7 separate regions of the Homo sapiens genome follow, and regions 1, 2, 3, 4, 6 and 7 are each linked to region 5. The links are contacts of gene promoters, found by promoter capture Hi-C in blood cells and fetal thymus (Javierre and others, 2016). All regions are on one chromosome and are shown on one strand. The core of a region is centred on a gene start or on the middle of the fragment in contact, and the rest is flanking DNA. Distances in the headings are between cores, read along the strand shown. Region 1 overlaps LOC102723321 (a long non-coding RNA gene). Region 2 has its middle 62 kb from the start of CHD1L. Region 3 overlaps LOC105371230 (a long non-coding RNA gene). Region 4 overlaps LOC105371230 (a long non-coding RNA gene). Region 5 holds the start of BCL9 (BCL9 transcription coactivator). Region 6 overlaps LOC102723321 (a long non-coding RNA gene). Region 7 overlaps LOC102723321 (a long non-coding RNA gene).

What was found. Contacts are between HindIII fragments. The CHiCAGO score rates a contact against its expected background, and 5 or more counts as called.
Region 1: a contact is called between a fragment that was not itself captured here and the fragment with the promoter of BCL9 in region 5, in 1 of 17 cell types (neutrophils). The highest score is 6.6, in neutrophils.
Region 2: a fragment that was not itself captured here is called in contact with the fragment with the promoter of BCL9 in region 5 in 2 of 17 cell types (erythroblasts and neutrophils); the score reaches 6.7 in erythroblasts.
Region 3: a contact is called between a fragment that was not itself captured here and the fragment with the promoter of BCL9 in region 5, in 3 of 17 cell types (neutrophils, naive CD4 T cells and monocytes). The highest score is 5.8, in neutrophils.
Region 4: a contact is called between a fragment that was not itself captured here and the fragment with the promoter of BCL9 in region 5, in 3 of 17 cell types (neutrophils, megakaryocytes and erythroblasts). The highest score is 7.2, in neutrophils.
Region 6: a fragment that was not itself captured here is called in contact with the fragment with the promoter of BCL9 in region 5 in 1 of 17 cell types (neutrophils); the score reaches 5.1 in neutrophils.
Region 7: a contact is called between a fragment that was not itself captured here and the fragment with the promoter of BCL9 in region 5, in 1 of 17 cell types (neutrophils). The highest score is 5.9, in neutrophils.

What each region holds. Positions count from the first base shown.
Region 1 is chr1:147,764,575-147,767,274 of GRCh38, forward strand. All of the region lies in intron 1 of LOC102723321 (a long non-coding RNA gene), which reads left to right. It also overlaps a transcript of GJA5 not described here. Among named protein-coding and RNA genes, the nearest start is that of GJA5, 5.3 kb to the left of the region's middle. The HindIII fragment of the contact is 1,550 bases long and covers 544-2,093 here.
Region 2 is chr1:147,303,468-147,306,167 of GRCh38, forward strand. No RefSeq gene overlaps it. Among named protein-coding and RNA genes, the nearest start is that of CHD1L, 62 kb to the left of the region's middle. The HindIII fragment of the contact is 1,677 bases long and covers 579-2,255 here.
Region 3 is chr1:147,701,983-147,704,682 of GRCh38, forward strand. All of the region lies in intron 2 of LOC105371230 (a long non-coding RNA gene), which reads right to left. All of the region lies in intron 1 of LOC102723321 (a long non-coding RNA gene), which reads left to right. Among named protein-coding and RNA genes, the nearest start is that of ACP6, 33 kb to the left of the region's middle. The HindIII fragment of the contact is 2,111 bases long and covers 346-2,456 here.
Region 4 is chr1:147,724,460-147,727,159 of GRCh38, forward strand. All of the region lies in intron 2 of LOC105371230 (a long non-coding RNA gene), which reads right to left. All of the region lies in intron 1 of LOC102723321 (a long non-coding RNA gene), which reads left to right. Among named protein-coding and RNA genes, the nearest start is that of GJA5, 35 kb to the right of the region's middle. The HindIII fragment of the contact is 811 bases long and covers 913-1,723 here.
Region 5 is chr1:147,540,244-147,542,943 of GRCh38, forward strand. BCL9 (BCL9 transcription coactivator) reads left to right here and starts at 1,258. Exons shown (of 10, transcript NM_004326.4): 1 at 1,258-1,431. RefSeq lists enhancers at 916-1,210, 929-1,683, 1,244-1,303. The HindIII fragment of the contact is 5,169 bases long and covers 1,167-2,700 here.
Region 6 is chr1:147,787,668-147,790,367 of GRCh38, forward strand. LOC102723321 (a long non-coding RNA gene) reads left to right here. Exons shown (of 3, transcript XR_922079.4): 3 at 941-2,023. Among named protein-coding and RNA genes, the nearest start is that of GJA5, 28 kb to the left of the region's middle. The HindIII fragment of the contact is 8,318 bases long and covers 1-2,700 here.
Region 7 is chr1:147,741,877-147,744,576 of GRCh38, forward strand. All of the region lies in intron 1 of LOC102723321 (a long non-coding RNA gene), which reads left to right. Among named protein-coding and RNA genes, the nearest start is that of GJA5, 17 kb to the right of the region's middle. The HindIII fragment of the contact is 7,001 bases long and covers 1-2,700 here.

The DNA.
Region 1 (2,700 bases), core at 69-2,568, 220 kb after region 5:
AGCACTTTGGAAGGCCGAGGCGGGCAGATCATCTGAGGTCAGGAGTTTAAGACCAGCCTGGCCAACATGGTGAAACCCCATCTCTAATAAAATTCAAAAATTAGCCCAGTGTGGTGGTGGGCACCTGTAATCCCAGCTACTCAGGAGGCTGAGGCAGGAGAGTTGCTTGAATCCGGGCGGTGGAGGTTGCAATGAGCTGAGATCACGTCAGTGCACTCCAGCCTAGGCAACAGAGTGAGACTCCGTCTCAAAAAAAAAAAAAAAAAAAATTAATAAAGTCAGGCATGATTCCTTCTGTCAAGTATTTAACAGCTTTTTCTCTCAAATGGGTAGTATGCTTCTCAAAGTTAAAAGCCCTGTCTTCTACTTTGCATTCTTATTGCATTAGGTTCTCTCATTTGGTACACAATAAATGCTTTCTTAATGATTGAAGAAAATGTTTGGCTAGCAGTAAGATTGCAAAGAGGTCCTAAGGAGGCTCAAGTCTTTCTTCTTAAGGTCAGCAGTAAAAATAAAACCTCACAATAAATAAATAAAAATAAAAGCTTACATACTGTTCAAAATGTGCTTCTACATTCTCTTGTTGGTTCCAAGAGAGCAGGATCATATTTGTTCTGTTCAAGACCGAATACCTTCAGAATGTTATAGACATTCAATTTTTATTGTTGAATGAATGAATCCTCATAACCACTCTGTGGGGTGATTGTTATTGCCTGTGTTTTGCAGAGGAGGAAACATATAAAAGTGATTCGTTCAAATAAACAATTAATGGGGGAAGAACCAGGGCTTCATTCCAGAGTTTCTGTTCAAGTCTGGTGCATGCCAGAAAGTTTCATTCCATCTCCCCTCCAAGAGTGGAGCTCATCAATTCTTAGACCTTCGAGAGGACTTCCCAGTGGAGATAACTCTGGTGTAGGAGTTAGGGGTATGTGATGTCTGTAGGGGTGTGGAGTGGATGGAGGAGTTGCAGAAGAGATGAGGGGATTTCAGACAAAGGCAAGACTGCATGAACAAATTCATTGAAATGAAAACCAGCATGGTTTTAGAGTACAATGAGCAGAGCATGGAAGGAGAGTCTGCATAGCAGGCAGGAGCAGATTGTGGAGGGCTTTAACAGCCATGCCTAGGAGTTTGGAGTCATTCTCAACCCACATGATAGGCCATGCTTAGTCCATTATTTGCTCCTGAGGGCCTAATCTGAAGCCTCCAAATGGGGTTGGGGATGTAAAGGACTGCACAATTAGTAATGTCCATGCTTGTAGCAGTCTTTTAGTAGTGGCTGCAGCATCAACTAGGTAGGCTGCAGATGACAGGTACCTCCCAGCACACTTGCTGTGACTGCACCCTCGTCTCTCCTGCTTAAGAAGGTATATTGCTAGTGAGTGAGGCCCTACCATAGGGATGCCTTGAAAATTCTCTTCTTTCTCTTGATTCCAGTTCTGTCCTGTGGAGTCACACATAATAGCCTTTCTAATATAGTATTTTACAATAATTTCTGTGTCCCCCAAGTCAGCAGCTGGGCCTTGGGCTGAACTGTAAAGCCTTGGAGGTCTCACACACCTGAGAATTAGTTGCTCTACAGGCCATGTATTCTCTCTCCCACTCAACCCTGAGCTCTTTGAAGACAAACTGCTTTTCTGTTCATCATTGTATTATCCTCCTGAAATTCCCTCCACCCCAAACCCCTTAGTGCTCAATACCACACCCTGCACAGTGTGGTATGTACTTTATAAAAACAACGATGGATGAATTGATAGCATTTAGGTCTCTCAAAACACCTAATGCCAAATTGATCAAGGCAATTATTTACCGGTTGCTGAAGAAAAGGATGAGAATGCACACAGAGGCCAAGCAACACGTTGGGGCCATGCTGCATGTCAGTGGAGGGGCCTGCCTGGGAAGCTGGCATAGGGACACCTGCCCAATGACGATGGTGACCAGAACACCAGGGAGATGGAAGCCACTGAGTGTTTCTTCTACCTGTGACAGAGCCGTTCTCTCAGCAGGAATGAATGTGTCTCAAGCAGAAATTCCATCACTGTGGACTACTCTCTCACTGCCTCCTCCCCTCATAGTACTGGGGAACTTATCCAAGCTTGTCAAAATTAGATGACAAGACCACTCCACAGAGTCTGAGTCTAATTCTGGACAACGACACATGTTCTGGACAGTATCTAACAGATCTCTGGTTCTCCATAAAGGTTGTTATTCATAGTAATAATAACAACCCCCTGGGCCCATGCTATAATTCCACTCACCATACAGTGGAATGTGGTGCAGGGCAGAGTTCATTTGCTTCCCAATTAAGAAAATTCTGTTGTGAAAGGACCCAAAGGGCCTCACTGAAAGGCTGCCTGAGAAATAGTATCATATCAGTGCAGTTTAGTTCAGAAAGTGCTTATCGAGCTCCTCTGCCATGTCAGACATCAAGGTAGCTTTATAAAGCAAAGCACCAAGCATAACCTTTATGTCAGAAGTCTTTTGTACCTTATTAATTTGTGTACATGTTTTCTGATTTCCTCTCACCCCAATAATTTCTCCTTAAAATGGGTATGTAGGGAGAATTGCATGAGAAAGTGGTCTTGATCCTCAGCTACTTCAGTAATCTTTGTTATCCTTTGATATTCCCAACTACGTCTTCTAGTTTACCCAGTTACACACACAAAAAAAGAATTTGGATCTAGGTGATAATAATAATAA
Region 2 (2,700 bases), core at 167-2,666, 240 kb before region 5:
ACTTTAGGAACTTAGTGTAGCTCAGAATCTTTTTATTATTCACACACATTTGAATAAATTCTCGGCTAAATATAAAATTTGTTTCAAAGTAATTTTCCAGCAATCCTGAGCAAAAAGAACAAAACTGGAGACATCACATAACCTGACTTCAAAATATGTTACAAAGCTATAGTAACCAAAACATCATGGTATTAGTATAAAAATAAACACATAGACCAATGGAACAGAATAGAGGATCCAGAAATAAAGCCATGTATTTGCAGCCAGCTGATCTTCAACAAAGCCAACAAGATCTTACACTGGGGAAAAAAGACTATCTTCAACAAATAGTGCTGGGAAAATTGGATGGCCACATGCAGAAGAATGAAACTGGACCCCTTACCTCTCACCATACACCAAGTAAATTCAAAGTGCATTAAAGACTTTAAATATAAGACCCAAAACTATAAAAATACTAGAAGCAAATCTAGGGAAAACTCTCTTGGATATTGTTCTAGGCAAAGAATGTATGACTTAAGACCTCAAAAGCACAGGGAACAAAACCAAAAACAGAAAAATGGGACTTAATTAAACTAAAAAGCTTCTCTACAGCAGAATAAATGAGTGAAGAGACAACCTATTAAATGGGAGAAAATATTTGCAAGCCATTCATTTGACAGGTGACTAATATCCAGAATACACAAGGAACTCAAACAACTCAACAGTTAACAACAAAAGAATAAAAAAGTGGACAAAGGACATAATAGACAACTCTCAAAAGAAGACATACAAATGGCCAAGAGGTAAAAGAAAAATGCTTAACACCACTAATCATCAGGTAAATGCAAATCAAAACCACAATGAGATAATATCTTACCCTAGTCAGAATGGCTACCATTAAAAAGACAAAAAAAAATGCTGGCAAGAATGCAGAGAAAAGGGAACTCTTATTCACTGTGGGTGGGAATGTAAACTAGTACAACCACTATGGAAAACAGCATGGAGATTTCTCAAAAAACTCAAATAGAATTACCATTTAATCTAGCAGTCCCACCACTAGGTATCTACTAAAGGAAAATGAAGCAATATATCAAAGGAAAACCTGCATTCACTTGTTTATTACAGCAGTATTCATAGTAAGGCTTGTGCCTCTCTGGGATGAAGCTTTGAGAGAAAGAAACAGGTAGCAATATTTGCTGTTCTGCAGGCTCTGCAGGCTCTGCAGACCCAGGCAAACAGGGTCTGGAGTGGACCTCCAGCAAACTCCAGCAGACCTGCAGAAGAGGGGCCTGACTGTTAGAAGGAAAACTAATAGAAAGCAATAATATCAACATCAACAAAAAGGATGTCCATGCAAAAACCCCATCCAAAGGTCCTCAGCATCAAACATCAAAGGTACATAAATCCATGAAGATAAGGAAAAACCAGTGCAGAAATGCTGAAAATTCCAAAAACCACAATGCCTCTTCTCTTTGAAAGGATCACAACTCCTCACCAGCAAGGGACCAAAACTGGATGGAGAATGAGTTTGATGAATTGACAGAAGTAGGCTTCAGAAGGTGGGTAATAACACTCCTCTGAGCTAAAGGAGCATGTTCTAACCCAATGCAAGGAAGCTAAGAAACCTTGATAAAAGGTTATAGGAAATGCTAACGAGAATAACCGGTTTAGAAAAGAACATGAATGACCCAATGAAACTGAAAAACACAGCATGAGAATTTCATGAAGCATACACAAGTATCAGTAGCCAAATTGGTCAAGCGGAAGAAAGGATATCAGAGATTGAAGATCAACTTAGTGAAATAAAGCGTGAAAACAAGATTAGAGAAAAAATGAAAAGGAATGAACAAAGCCTCCCAAGACATATGAGACTATGTGAAAAGACCAAACCTACGATTGATTGGTGTACCTGAAAGTGATGGAGAATGGAACCAAGTTGGAAAACACACTTCAGGATATTATCCAGGAGAACTTCCCCAAATTAGTGAGACAGGGCAACATTCAAATTCAGGAAATACAGACAACACCACTAAGATACTCCTTGAGAAGAGCAACCCCAAGACACATAATTGTGAGATTCACCAAGACTGAAATGAAGGAAATAATGTTAAGGGCAGCCAGAGAGAAAGGTCAGGTTACCCATAAAGGGAAGCCCATCAGACTTAACAGTGGATCTCTCTGCGGAAACGCCACAAGCCAGAAGAGAGTGGGGGCCAATATTCAACATTCTTAAAGAAAATAACTTTCAACCCAGAATTTTATATCGAGACAAACTAAGCTTGATCAGTGAAGGAGAAATAAAATCCTTTCCAGACAAGCAAATGCTGAGGGATTTTGTCACCACCAGTCCTGCCTTACAGGAATTCCTGAAGGAAGCACTAAATATGGAAAGGAAAAAATCAGTACCAGCTACTGCAAAAACATGCCAAAATATAAAGACCAATAACACTATGAAGAAACTGCATCAACTAATGTGCAAAATAACCAGCTAACATCATGACAACAGGATCAGATTCACACATAACAATATTAACAATAAACGTAAATGGGCTAAATGCCCCAATTGAAAGACGCAGACTGGCAAATTGGATAGAGTCAAGACCCATCGGTGTGCTGTATTCAGGAGACCCATTTCATATGCAAAGACACACATGGGCTCAAAATAAAGGGATGAAGGAATATTTACCAAGCAAATGGAAAGCAAAAGAAGCAGGGTTTGCA
Region 3 (2,700 bases), core at 151-2,650, 160 kb after region 5:
GTAGCTTATCACAGAGATTGGCAGTTAGTAACAACTCAAAAAATGATAGCCAAAAATAGCAGCAGCAAGTGACCAAGAGCTGAAAATAAGTCTTAGGGTTTCTACAGGTGAGAGTAATATTCATTTAAGCTACATTTGATAACAAGGTCCTTGTTATTTAGCAAAAAGTACCCCTTAAGTGGCACCTGTGTGCCACTATAGCTAAAGAGATGCCAAAGAGAAGCTGGATGATGATGGCCCAGGAAGGTCCTCATGCCATGACCACGCTTTGGGAGCTCATCATAAATATGAAGACTGGTCTTCAGCTTCATAGGATCCATTTTATCAGTACCCCAGGAGTGTCCAAGCTTTAGAAGGCTGACGTATGTCAACTAAACTCACGTAGTTAGTCTTCAGGATAACTGGAGTGACTCTCTTTTAGGGATTGATTCATTATTCAGTTGCTGCCTATTATGAAAGTTAAAAAAAATTACTTATTCTTATATTCAACCCAACTATTTATGGAGACACAACCTCAAACTAAAATGATCAAGTTGCTATTGAAAAAAACATAAATTACAAGATACCACAGGCACTGTGATATCACTAAAATGCAATGACAATAATTATTTAGCTTACCAGCTGATTTGGACATTTTATATATTTAAGTTTTGTGCATGATTAGAACCAGAATCAGGAATAGACACAATGAAGGTGTCATAGAGTGGTAATTCATAGGTTTTCAAGTAGTGGCTTGATCTTTGCCTGAATGGAGTGGGAAAACTGCCAGCTAGAGGCCTGTAAACAGCATCTGCACTCAGATGAGGATACTGGAGTGTGTTAAGATCCTTCTCTTGTTTTGAGACCCTTCTGTTCTGAGAGAGTCTTGTAAGTGATCTCTTTGGTCAGGCAGATGTAAGGTAAGAATCCACTTGTCCTTGGGGAAACCTGCTAAGTATTCTATTTGGATCTATTATCTGGAGTGTGACCTCAGATTTAGGACATTTTTTTCTACACATGGATTTGAGCTGTGGTATTCTGAGCATTCTATGTGTATGAAATGCATAGGGGTTTTGCTCAAGCATTTGCACACTGAACGCAGGAGGCAAGGTTATGGCAGGTATGATGCACAGGACTTATTGTCTCTTTACTGCACACAAGATAAAAGACTGGAGAGGATGTGGACTGTTTGTTGTGCCACATGGTTTTATTTAGTACAGAATAGGCCATTTTTGTTACAGAATAGGGCCTCACTGTGCCCTGTAAGAGAATGGAAGACAATAGATGCTCTACAGAGACAGAGAAATGAGGTGGGCTTTGGACTGAAAATGAGGGAGATCTTTGGGTCTGGTGGAAATTGAGCCTAGATTCTGAGCATGGAGATATAATGGCATTTGTCAGCTACTCTCTGTTGTATGTCTTTGTTCCAAGGGCATTTATTACACACCCAGATTAGATTCAGATTAGCCACATTTGGGGAGCTAAGGAACATGGCTATATGCATATTTAAGGCACTACATGTAGAGGGAGTTGGTATTCCTGGAGTTACAAGACAACAAGAGGTGAAAGCAGGAGCATGGCACCTCAATATTCTGGGGGGCAAGGGCTCGGACTGAGATGGCACGTGACAAGCAGAGAGGGTTTATGGAACCGGGGAGGTTTTCTCAGTGACCACTGGAGGTACTTGAGGAGGCGAACCTGATAAAAGGCACTTTCTGCAGCCCTAGAGGATGCTTGATAGGAATTTAGCTATTGTTATTTGTGTATTAAAAGGCCAGAGAATTTGAGTACTTCTGTGCTACATAAATATACATATTTTAACACCATAGGTATAACAAGATCACTGACACTATTAGAAGCAGAAGCTCAATTCTAGGACAATATTATGAACTGGCTTTCCAAATCATTCCTAATAATGAGTAGCAACACAGAAAAGACCTTTTTTCCCCTCTATTTTCCTTCCTTTTCTCTTGCTGAGCTTGGAAATCTGGGTGAGGATCAAACAGTCCTTGCTTATGGTTCATATGGGGCTCTGCTCTCTGGAGCTCCTCCTAACAGCATATCATGCTTCATGACTCCTGCAACCGACTAGCTCTGATGCTCTGATCTGACAGGTTTCTATTCTTGATGTTTGTTTTGCTATGCATTATACATTACCCCATGCTTATGAAGAACTGGCCATTCTATCTGACTTAGGCCTTCGTGGTTTCCTTGGACTTTTAGTAGTCTCTGACCTTCTTTACCTTCTCCTTTTTTTCTTCTTTCCTCCTCTTCCTTATTCTAGAAAAGATTTTCCTTCCTGTAAGGGATAGCTTTAAAAAAATTTAAAGTGCGTATACAGATATAGTTAATCAAGATTAAATTAAAGGTAGATGAATAAAAGAAAGGAAAAACAAGGACGAGGAACAAGGGGGATACAAAAATGTATCCCTAATGATTCCAACTCTTGATTACTGGTGGGCCACCAATTGATGCCAAGCTTCCCGGAGATCACTTGAAAAGGTGGGAGCTTATTAAGTGCCCAAGCCACAGGGGTCACGAGGTGAAAACCAGCAAAACAACTTATTCCTAATATTAAAACCAGAAAGAAAATTATCTTAAGACACGCCATAAGGAAGATCTTGTGTAATATCATGAAAAGGGTCTTCAGTAACAACTCTTTACTGTAGGCACTGGGATGGAACTCATTAGGGGTAACTGCACCAAAGCTCAAGAAAAGCA
Region 4 (2,700 bases), core at 68-2,567, 180 kb after region 5:
TTTGAAAAGATTTGATCAGCTCAAAACACCCTGCCATTTAATAAATTATTTTTCCATTTTTTAAAATTTATTTTTATTGTATATATTTAAGGTAAACAACATGATGTTTTGATGTACATATACATAGTAAAATAATTATTACAGTCAAACAAATTAATACATCCACCACTCTCCATAGTTACCCCCATCCTTTTTTTGTGGTAAGAGCCCCTAAAATCTACTCTCTCAGTGAATTTTCAGTACACAGTACAATAATGCATTATTACTATAGTCCTCATGCTGTACATTAGGTCTCTTAGTCATTCTACCTAACTGCAAATTCCTACCCTTTGACCTGCTTATCCCCATTTCCTCCCTCCCCACTCCTGGTAACCACTCATCTACTGTTTCTATTTTTTTAACTTAACATATTTTTTAGGTTCTGTATATAAGTAAGGTTATACAGTATTTTTCTATGTCTGTCCTATTTCACTTAGCATAATGCCCTCCGCATTTATCCGTATTGTCACAAATGGCAATACCTTCTTTTTAAAGACAGAATAATACTCCATTGTGCATGTGTGTGTGTGTGTGTCTGTGCATATATATATCCATATACATATATATATATCCATATACATATATACATATATATCCATATACATATATACATATATATCCATTTTAAAAATCCATTCATCCATCAATGAGCACTTAAGTTGTTTCCATATCTTGGCTCTTGTGAATTAATATGGGAGTGCAGCTATCCCTATGAGGTGCTGATTGCCTTTCCCTTGTATAGATACTCAACAGATAGATCATTTTCCATCCTTTATTACTCAAAGACTTAAATCAGCAAGAGAAAGGAATTTTGTAACACAGAATTGACAAAACCTTAACTAAAGCAAACGTGAATAAGCCTGCCTTTTCAAAAGCTTTTGTATAATTGCTAGTAAACGCACGATTTCCACTAGACTTTTTTGAAATATTGAAAATAGCACTGGCTCTGCCATTGGCCCTTTAGTGTAAACCTGAGCATCTAAGGTCTCTGGGCTGGAAGAATTTCACTAGATGATTTCTCAAGTCCCTTCCACTGCAAAAATGTTCTAAATCTATGATCTCCTTGTGTCAATAGTGAGTTGATGCGAGCTGGAGGTTGGAGGTCCATACAAAAGGGGCATGTTAGGGCTGGCTGCAGCTCTGTGTTTAGTACAGTCTTCCTCCATTTTGATGCTATCATTCAAAATTGGGGTTACTTTCACCGGGGTTGGGTTGAAGTCTATCTTTACTGAGTTTATGAAACAAGTTTACCACAGTAAATATGTCAAAACTCCCAGTAGGCTGGATGTGGTAGCTCATGCCTGTAATCCCAGCACTTTGAGAGGCCGAGGTGAAAGGATCGCTTGAGCTCAGGAGTTCAAGACCAGCCTGGGCAACATAGTAAGACCCCATCTCTACAAAACAAACAACAACAACAAAAAGCAAAACTCTCAGTAGCTTGTGAGGGTTGTTGGTAATGACATGGGAAGCACAGCATTTCCTAGCATTTAACCTCTCCAGTCCCATGTATGTACCCATGAAAATGATATCCCAATAATGTATCATTTTTGCCATCTGAAATATTTTAACTTCCTTGGAAATTTTATAGCACTGACAAAACCACGTATTAATTGATCCAATCTATTTTGAGCCAGGAGCTGTGCTAGGCATTGCTGGGAGGGCTACTGAAGTATATAATAAGGTAAGCTTAACTGAATTTTTACAAAAATGTTTTTTAGCAGATAAGTCTTTGCAAATCATATGCATTACAGAGGTTTTGTTCTCATTCTCACTCCTAGGGAAACACAAAAAGAGATGGAGCAGTAAACAGAGAATCAAAGGGATCTGGGGGAGGTAAAGTCTGCTTGCTGTTGCCACGGAAGCAGACCTAACAAAGAAGTTAGGACAAACGGCTTCTGCTGTGTGAGGTGGGGGTCCACTTCCTCTGTACTGGCTGGGCATCATTAGTTAGTAGAGATATAAAAAAATATGCTGAATGCAGACCAGAAATGATTCAATAAGTCCATGAAAGAAATATTTATTACACACCTACCATATGCCAAGCATGTGTAGGAATACAATGGCAAATATGTCATGGTCCTTGTCTTCAAGGAGTTCTGAAACCAAAGAAGTCACATAGGGAAATACGCACCCCTGGGTGAAAAGTGCCACAGGAGTACCAGGCAACACAGGGAAGGGAATGGCTAATTCCGTTGTGGGTTACTGGGGCCACCTCACAGAGGAAGTGACATTGAGGCTGGGCCTTGAAGTAAGTTTTAGCCTAATTACAAAGGGCTTCGAAGGCATAGAGAGCCATATGACAAACTTGTGAACACTCATTATCAGAGGTGGCTGGACTTGAGTGGGGGAAAGGTGAAAACGAAGAGAAACTAGTATTGGGCCAGAGTGAGAAAAATCTGGCACTGTTACAAGTCATCACTTTACTTAAAATAAAAATATTTATTTTCCCCAGGATTCAGGGGTGTGTGGTTCTCAGGAGACTATTTAGCCAATGATTGGACAGACATTCAGTAATCATGAAAAACAAGCTGTTATTTTAGATATTAATAGTTAACAGGTAAGAAGTTCTATTTACAAGCATTTTTAATTTGTCTTAAAAAATAATTTTAGAATTTCTATAAATCACCCATTTTTAGTTATGTAAGGCATAAAAGTATTTTT
Region 5 (2,700 bases), core at 8-2,507:
TCTCTCTCTCTCTCTCTCTCTCCACTCCTTTACAGCCCCCACCTCCTCCCTCCACACCAATCAAATTCCTGCTTGTTTCTTGCCATATTCATTATCCTACCTCATTCCCCTCTTATTCCTAGAAAACAGCACACTCACCCTCCCCTCCTCCAACTCTCAGGCCCACCCTCCATAAATTCCAGCAGCCTGGCAATCAGTAACTTTAGCATCACACTTCACAGCTCTCCTAGTTTACACTACTTGTTACTACTCTCCTTGCTACTGCTCTCTAGGGTTTCTGCTAAAATAAAAAATAAAAAAAAATAAAAAAAGCTTCACTTTAAAAATATCTTGGGTACAAGTTGAACCTACAGTTAAGTTTACTCACACATTTACACATTTCATGATTTTATTTTAACTAGTAGCTCAAGTCCATGCTCAATTATGCAGTGAAAGAAGGCTAGATCCTTAGGAAACAAATTTTTCTCTATTGTAAAGAAGAAAAATCACCTAACCACTCAACAGAAACCCCAGTCCTGGGGCCACTCACCCTCTTATCTCCCTACTCCCCCAATCTCCAGCTAATGGGACTTTGCTTTTTCCTTTGTCGGGTCATTTATTTCACTTTTCCTGGCGCTGAGATGGCCTGAGTCTGTGTATGTGTGCACACGTGTGTGGCCACTGCTTTTCTTCCAAAGGACTCACCTCTCTTCTGCCATTTTACTAGGACACAGGAGGCGGCTCTCTGCTCTCGCTCTCCCTCTCTTTTTCTCCCTGCCCCCAACTCAGCCTGGGCTTTTTCCTGTCTCTTAACTCCACCAGTGCAGCAGCAACTAGCTGAGCTGCTTGAGAGAGAGAGAGAAGAGAGAGAGAGAGAAGAGAGAGAGAGAGAGAGAGGAGAGAGAGAGAGAGAGAGAGAGAGAGAGAGAGAGAGAGAGAGAGAGAGAGAGAGAGAGTGTGTGTGTGTGTGTGTGTGTGTGTGTGTGTGTGTGTGTGTGTGCCTGCGTGCGCAGCTAGGCCAAGCCTGCGAGCCTGCCTGTCACTGGAGAGTTTTAGTTTGCATTCAGAAGAAAGGAGGAGGGGAGACAAGAGGGGAGGAGGAAAAGGTGGAGGGGGGAGGAGTGGGGGGGCGCAGAGAAGGGAGGGAGAATGTCTTGTTTGTGGCTTGTCAGCAATTGCTTGAGACAAGCTTCCATGTGTGAAAGCTACTTGGCATGAATGCCTGGGCCGTACCAAGTGTCACCGCAGCAAGAGGGGGAGTCAGAAGAAAAACAGATCAGACCAGAGCAGACAATAGGCCCCTAAAGTGTTCCCCCTAAGTTGCTTTGATGTTGTCCTGGTGTCTTGATACCAGGAGGCCAGGGATTGCGGGAAAAGGGTCTTTTTTGTCTTCATTCACTTTCCCCCCTCAGTTTCTGAAATGATTCTCCAGAATTTCTCCTCATAAAAAAGGTAAGAGCCCTAACAATTCCTTCTTCGGTGGCAGGCTTGTTCGCCTGTGCCTGGAAGTGGGGGTCTCATTCCTGCGCTGCTCTGGAGGAGCGCTGGGGTCCTGCGATTGGAGCTCCTGCGTTGCCCCTGGAAGTCTTTCAAGGCATCCAGGACTGGGGATGGCCCCTCTTTCGAGGGAACCCCAGTAACACGATCTGTGCCTCTGGGTTGGTGGGGGAGAAGGGGTGGATGGAGAGGGCTGGGAGGAGGGTGTGAGGGTGGGAGGGAAAAGAGAGAGAGAGAGGGAGCGCGAGAGAGGGAAGCCTGGAAAAGAGGGAGAGAAGGGCAGAGCCTTGGTTCAGGGAAACCCCAGCCCAGAGCCCAGGGAGGCCTTGCAGGCTCCGAGCTGTGCATTCTCAGGCTGAGCAAGGGCCGGCCAGGGCTCCGCCGAGTGACTGCAGAGATTGCATCGAGCTTTGTGTGTGCCAGTGTGCCCGTGGGTCTGTGTGTGCGTGTGGACTTCCCACACACTGCCCTGGCGTGCCTCGCTGTGAAGGGGAGGCACCCCGATCCTTACCACCCCAGCCCAGACTCTCCGAGGAGGAGCGGCATGGCAGGCAAGAAGGGAGAGCAAGAGAACTCTGCCACAAGACGATCCAGAAACTTTTCCAGTCTCAGGGATTCCTCTGGTCGTAGAGACTGTTGAGTTGTGGGGTGCCCCGTGCCTCAATTTCCCCATCTGTAAAATCAAGGTTGCTGATCAGGGATGCTGTATGCCTCCCTGGGATTGAGCGAAACAGAACAGATCACTGTGTCTGAAACGCGTGGAGAAATCGTCAGCTAGAGATGCTGTGGAATCACAGAGTAGAAGTGTTATCATTATTCTTGATCATCATCATCAGGGTAATAAAAACATCATTAAAGACACCCTGAGACAAATAGACTGAGGAGCACAGATCAAGTGTCTGAGCATTTCTAAGGAAACAAAAAGCCTTGTTCCACCTGTTGGCTTCTGTCCTTTTTCTCTTGTGTCTTTTCGTTAGATTTATTGGCCGATTTGTACAGAGAATGGGGTGGGAGGGGTTGGGTTTTCCCCTTTCCTCCTCCTTGTACGTATTTTTGTTTTAAAGAAGGTCAATGTAAGATGCTTGAGCGAGAAAATGTGCCTCCTGGTATAGTAGTTTATTCAAGACCTTGTGTTTTCTGGGGCTGGCAGGGCATGCAGACGCATCTGTAAACTCTACCTTGGAGGTTAAAGATTTTTATTGTGGCTTTTAGAGATTAAATGAG
Region 6 (2,700 bases), core at 78-2,577, 250 kb after region 5:
CTGAACTCAACTCCAATGGAAGTTGCGTCACTTGGTGGCTGTGTGATTCTGGGCAAGTCCCTTAATGTCTCCAAGCCTTAATGTTCTCATGTATAAAAAGGGTGCCCCTTTTTGTAAAAAGGCTTTCTGACTGTGACAAATTCATTAAAATATTGTGATGAACAAATGTGTTCCAAGCTGCAATGTGCCAGGCAAGTGATGTTATTATCAACTAGACTCTTGCTCTCCATGCAGTGAAGCCTCTTCCTATGAGTGGAAATTATTCAGCCTTGTCACTGGCATGTCAACAACCAGACACAGCTTAGCACAGAGTCATGCCATAGGTCTGGGGCAGGACAAGCCAAGTGCAGGAAATGTGTCTGGTCAGCTTCTGCACAACCCTGGATGGAACGGGCCAGGGGAAGGGGAAATGGTTTGCCCCCTGCATTCTGCCCGTATGCCTTCCTGTGCCATCCTCCAGACCCCAGGCTCTACCCTCAGGCCTGGGCAGTGGGATAGGCTCCAAGAGTCTGGAGTGTCTAGGGCTGGGTGAGTTGGGTAAACTTTAACACAAAGCCTTATAAAATGCTTGTTTGTATTTCACTTTTAGTAAACTAAAGAGGCAGGAAAGTTGAAGACAGGTTTGGATCTTTCCAAGAAGGGCTTGGCCTCACAGGGAAGAGGTCTCCAGATGGGTCAGGGGGAAGCAGGGCATATCGAGCCTGGGGGAAAGAGGGATATGAATATGGCATCTCGGTTTTCAAAAAGTTGGCATGAAAAGGAAGATTTGACTTATTCTGGGCAGCTCAGAAGGATGGAACTGGGATCTGAGTGAGGACGGGGAGGAAGAGGGCTCACATTAACTTACTCTTATCAGGCACTGTTCTTTACAAATGTTATGACATGTAATCCTCACAACAATACCATGAAGTGGTTACTATTATTATCCTCTGTTTTACAGATGAGGAAACCAAGGCACAGAGGTTAAACAACGTGTCCAAGCCACGTAGCAAGTAAACAATTGAGCCAGGCTCCAAATCCAAACGTTCTGGCGTCAGAGTCCTATAAAGATTTTTTTGGCCTAATGTGAGGAAGTACTTTCTAAGAATAAGAGTTTACCAATTAAAAGGGGGTTGCTGTTTTATGAAGATATTTAAACCAAGGCTGAGGGGCCATTTTCAAGGGATGCTGACTCGGTAAAAGTTCTTTGGCAGCAAGCATCAGAAACCAAATGTAACAACTTTAAGCTAAAAAATAAAAAGAAGGAAGAGGAAGAAGAGAAGATGGGGTTGAGGGAGGAGGACAGGAAAAAAAAGGAGAAGAAAGGTGAAGAGGAAAGTGAGGAGGAGGAAGAGGCAAAAAAAGGGGCATTTGTTGGAAGTGGGGTGCAGAAAAAATAAACAGCTGAAGATTCAAATTCAAGAAGGACCAGAAACAAGGACTGCCCTAGGATCCAGGGAGCAGGAACTGATTAACCGTTTCTTTAGGGCACAATTACCCAAATAAATCAGCTCTAATGGATTTCTGTCTTTTTGCCATTCTGCTTAAGATTCAAGTTCCAGGGAAAGAACATTCCCTTGGCCTAGCCTTGGGAAAGATCGACAATAAAAATCGCTAATATTTATGGTGTTTATTCTCTACCAGCCACTGTTCTAAGCACCACATCTGCATGTATTTTCTTCTCACAGACACCCTATGAGATAGCTACTATTATAGCTAAGAAACTGAGACAGAGAATGTTAGCTGTCATTCAACGTGAGGCAGTGTGGTTGCCACCATGTTTGCTCTAATATCAAAATGGAAAGGATAGGCTCCCTAAGACAAAATGTTGATGTTGATGAAGAAGGGGAATGGATGCTAAGAGATAAAACCCACAGATGCTCTCTCAGGGCTTGGTCTTGCTAGAAGGGAAAGAGAGGACTCCCGAGGTGTCTTCTGACCCAGGAATTCTACATTCTAGTTTCCATCCTAACCCTCTTGGTTATTGCAAGGAGAAGATGAAACAAAGCAAGGAGGCCGGGTGTGGTGGCTCACACCTATAATCCCAGTACTTTGGGAGGCTGAGGCAGGCAGATTGCTTGAGTCCAGGAGTTCGAGATTAGCCTGGGCAACATGGTGAAACCCCACCTCTACCAAAAGTAAAATTAAAAAAAAATAGCTGAGCATGGTGGCATGTGCCTGTGGTCCCAGCTACTCAGGAGGCTAAGGTGAGAGGATTGCTTGAGCCCCGGAGGTGGAGGTTGCAGTGAACCGAGATTGCACTAATGCACTCCAGCCTGGGCAAGAGTGAGACCCTGTCTCAAAAAGAAAAAAAGCAAGGAGCAAAAAGACAACAGAAAAGATATAACAAAGGACTGAGTGCAACAGAAACATAGGAGAACAAATAGTTCCTGAACAGGATACAACCAAATGACAAAATTCTGAGAGAAAAAAAAATGCCTATCAAAGTATAACTTGAAAGACAACAAAGAAAAGATTCCAAGTCCTATAAAAGTTTGAGAATGAAATAAAATGAAGAAAAGCAGAGAGGCCAATTTCTCACAAATAGTGAAAACCTGATGTGAAACTCTACTACAAGAGGTTGCACTCCATCATGATTCACAATGAAAGTTTGGAGTCAGGCTGCCAGAATTAAATCCTGCCTCCAGCACCTCCAGCTGTGTCACTTTGAAAGCATTACATGACCTGTCTGTGCCTCGGTCTCGTCTGTAAGATTTTAAT
Region 7 (2,700 bases), core at 165-2,664, 200 kb after region 5:
ACTGAACCCTGTGGCCAGATGGTTATAGGGTAGCCTCAGATGAGTTGAGAGAGGCATGAGGGTGAGGAAACAAAGAAATAGGACAGTACTAAGACTTGTGTCTAGGAAAGACTTTTGGGCTACTGGCACATGCAATTGACTGGAAGCAAATAGATTAGAAGCCTACTGTCTTTGAGAGAATTGTGTTGGCAGATAAATCATAATCCTGGCTAAAATAAATAAAAAATACCCTGAAATATAAAACAGCTCTCAGGGCTCCAAATCTGCACTAGCAGGAAGCAGGCTGTGAATGTTGTGTAGTTCCAAGGAAGGCCAACTCAACGATGTTCATTTCAGATGAGACCATGGAGGAAAGTGTACACGGAAGAATCTGCCAAAGGTGGAGCCAGGTACCAGGGAGAACAATGGACAAGGAAATTCCACCAGAGATCAGAATTAAGATCTAATCCAGAAATTTCCCCTCATATTGGAGCAGGCAGTTTTTATCGTGCCTATTCAAGCAAGATTTCATCATTGTGATGGACAAGAGACTGCTCTGTAGCTCCCATTCTTCCCTTCCCGAAAGAGGACTTTAGAATGTCCTGTACTATTCCTGTGTTTCTACCTCCATGTTGTATTTTGGGTGGTGATTAGTGGAACACAGATAGTTGTTTTGAGTTTCTAAGTCTCCAGACCATAAGGAGGTAGATCCAGACTTGCCAAAAAGAACTGCACACCTCTCAGAGATCCTAGACTTTGAGCTGGATGTGGTGGCTGAATGAGATTTTTTATTTCGTGGTGTGTGTTTATGTTCTAAGTGTTTAAGTATGGGAAGAAAGGTATCCACTGATATTTGGTGATCAATTTTGTATTTTTTTTGTATAGATGGGGTTTTGCCATCTTGGCCAGGCTGATCTCTAACTCCTAGGCTCAAGCCATCCACCTGCCTTGGCCTCTCAAAGTGCTGGGATTACAGGTGTGAGCCACCATTGCCAGCTTGTCATGGAGTCTAACATGTAATTGTTTCAAGCATCACCATAATGCTAAACCAAATGCATAATTACCATAATGCATTTGCCTGGCACACAGATAACATTAGACCTAGATGACTAGCTGTTCACCAAATATTCATATAGAATTGACATTGGGATTGACTATTTCTGAGCATCCCTTCCATTTGTGTAACTAGCTATCCCCAATGGAATATGAGTAGAAGTGATGTGTATCACTTCCAGGCTTTGATTTTTAAGAAGTTGATGGGGATGATCCACATTCTCTTCTCCTGTCTGTCATCTGAATGCTGGGAATGTTCAGCTTCTAAGGAATACTAGAGCCAAAAGATGGCCCCTAAACACCACATGAAGGGATACTGCAAATCAGAAATATATACTTTGGACAATTACATGAACAAGAAATAAATTTTCATTTTGTTAAACCACTGAATTTTGTTGTTGTCATTGCTGTTGTTACAGCATTATGGTAATTATGCAGTTGGTTTAGCATTATGGTGATGCTAGAAACAATTACATGTAAGACTCCATGACAGGCTGGGCATGGTGGCTCACGCCTGTAATCCCAGCACTTTGAGAGGCCAAGGCGGACTAATGGCTTGAGCCTAGAATTAGAAAAAAAAAAAAATTAGCTGGGTATGGTGGTGCTCACCTATAGTCCCAGCTACTAGGGAGGCTGAGGTGGGAAGACTGAGCCCAGGAGGTCAAGGCTGCAGTGAGCTGTGGTGGTGCCACTGTACTCTGGCCTGGGTGACAGAGTGAAACTCTGTCTCAAAAACAAAACAAAACAAAAGATTCCATGACGGTGAATCAAGCATCTGTTAAACCCGTAAGTGATGTTCCTGACAGAAGCATGGCGGACAGAGAAGGCAAATCCATATCCAGATAAATATCTGCTCCAATGAGAACCAAATTGTTGCCCCCTCCATGAAAAGGAATCCAATGTAATCAGCCTTCCAGGCAAGTGCTAGACTGAGACCTCTAGGCCATGGTACTAGATTAAAGGTTTCAAGGTTAGTCACTGCCTCTAAGAAATTGAATACTCAGCAGTGGTGTGGTCAGATCAGCCTCAGTAAAGGAAAGTACTTGTTGAGCTTATCTATGATCTTAATCCTACCACCATGGTGATGTTCATAAACTCACTGAGAAAAATACTGCGGTGAGTGGGAAAGAGGTTGACTGACATTCATATGGCATGAAATCTTGTACACTATTTGAGAGTCTCCTACACTGTGGACACCTTTGGGAGAACATTCTCATGGAATAAATATATTTTCACCCATTATGATTAGTTTGTTTATATGTATTTTCCCCAAAACTCCTTGTCACAAATCCATGAAGTTTATTCCTTCCAAGTTCCTGACTGCTTAACCAAACCATTAGCCCTTGTCCATGAATTGGCTTAGATCCAGATCTCAGGTCATTTGTCCTTCCACACAAAGTGCACCATGACAAATACCACTCAAAGCTCTGCATAGTGGAAGGATTTCCCTTCTCTACCGTCCTGCAGGGTCACCCCTGAAGTAGAGCTGTAAGAGCAGTCCGCTTACTGCTGGTGCCAGAATATTATACAAATCCATCTGTAAACTAGATTATTTTAGGCTGGCATTGCAGGTAGGAGATGATGCAATTGAAATGAGCTCCCTGATTTCACAGGAGATGTTTGGATCCTGGAGTGGAAGAGGCAACACTTAGCCATCAGAGGTAGGGC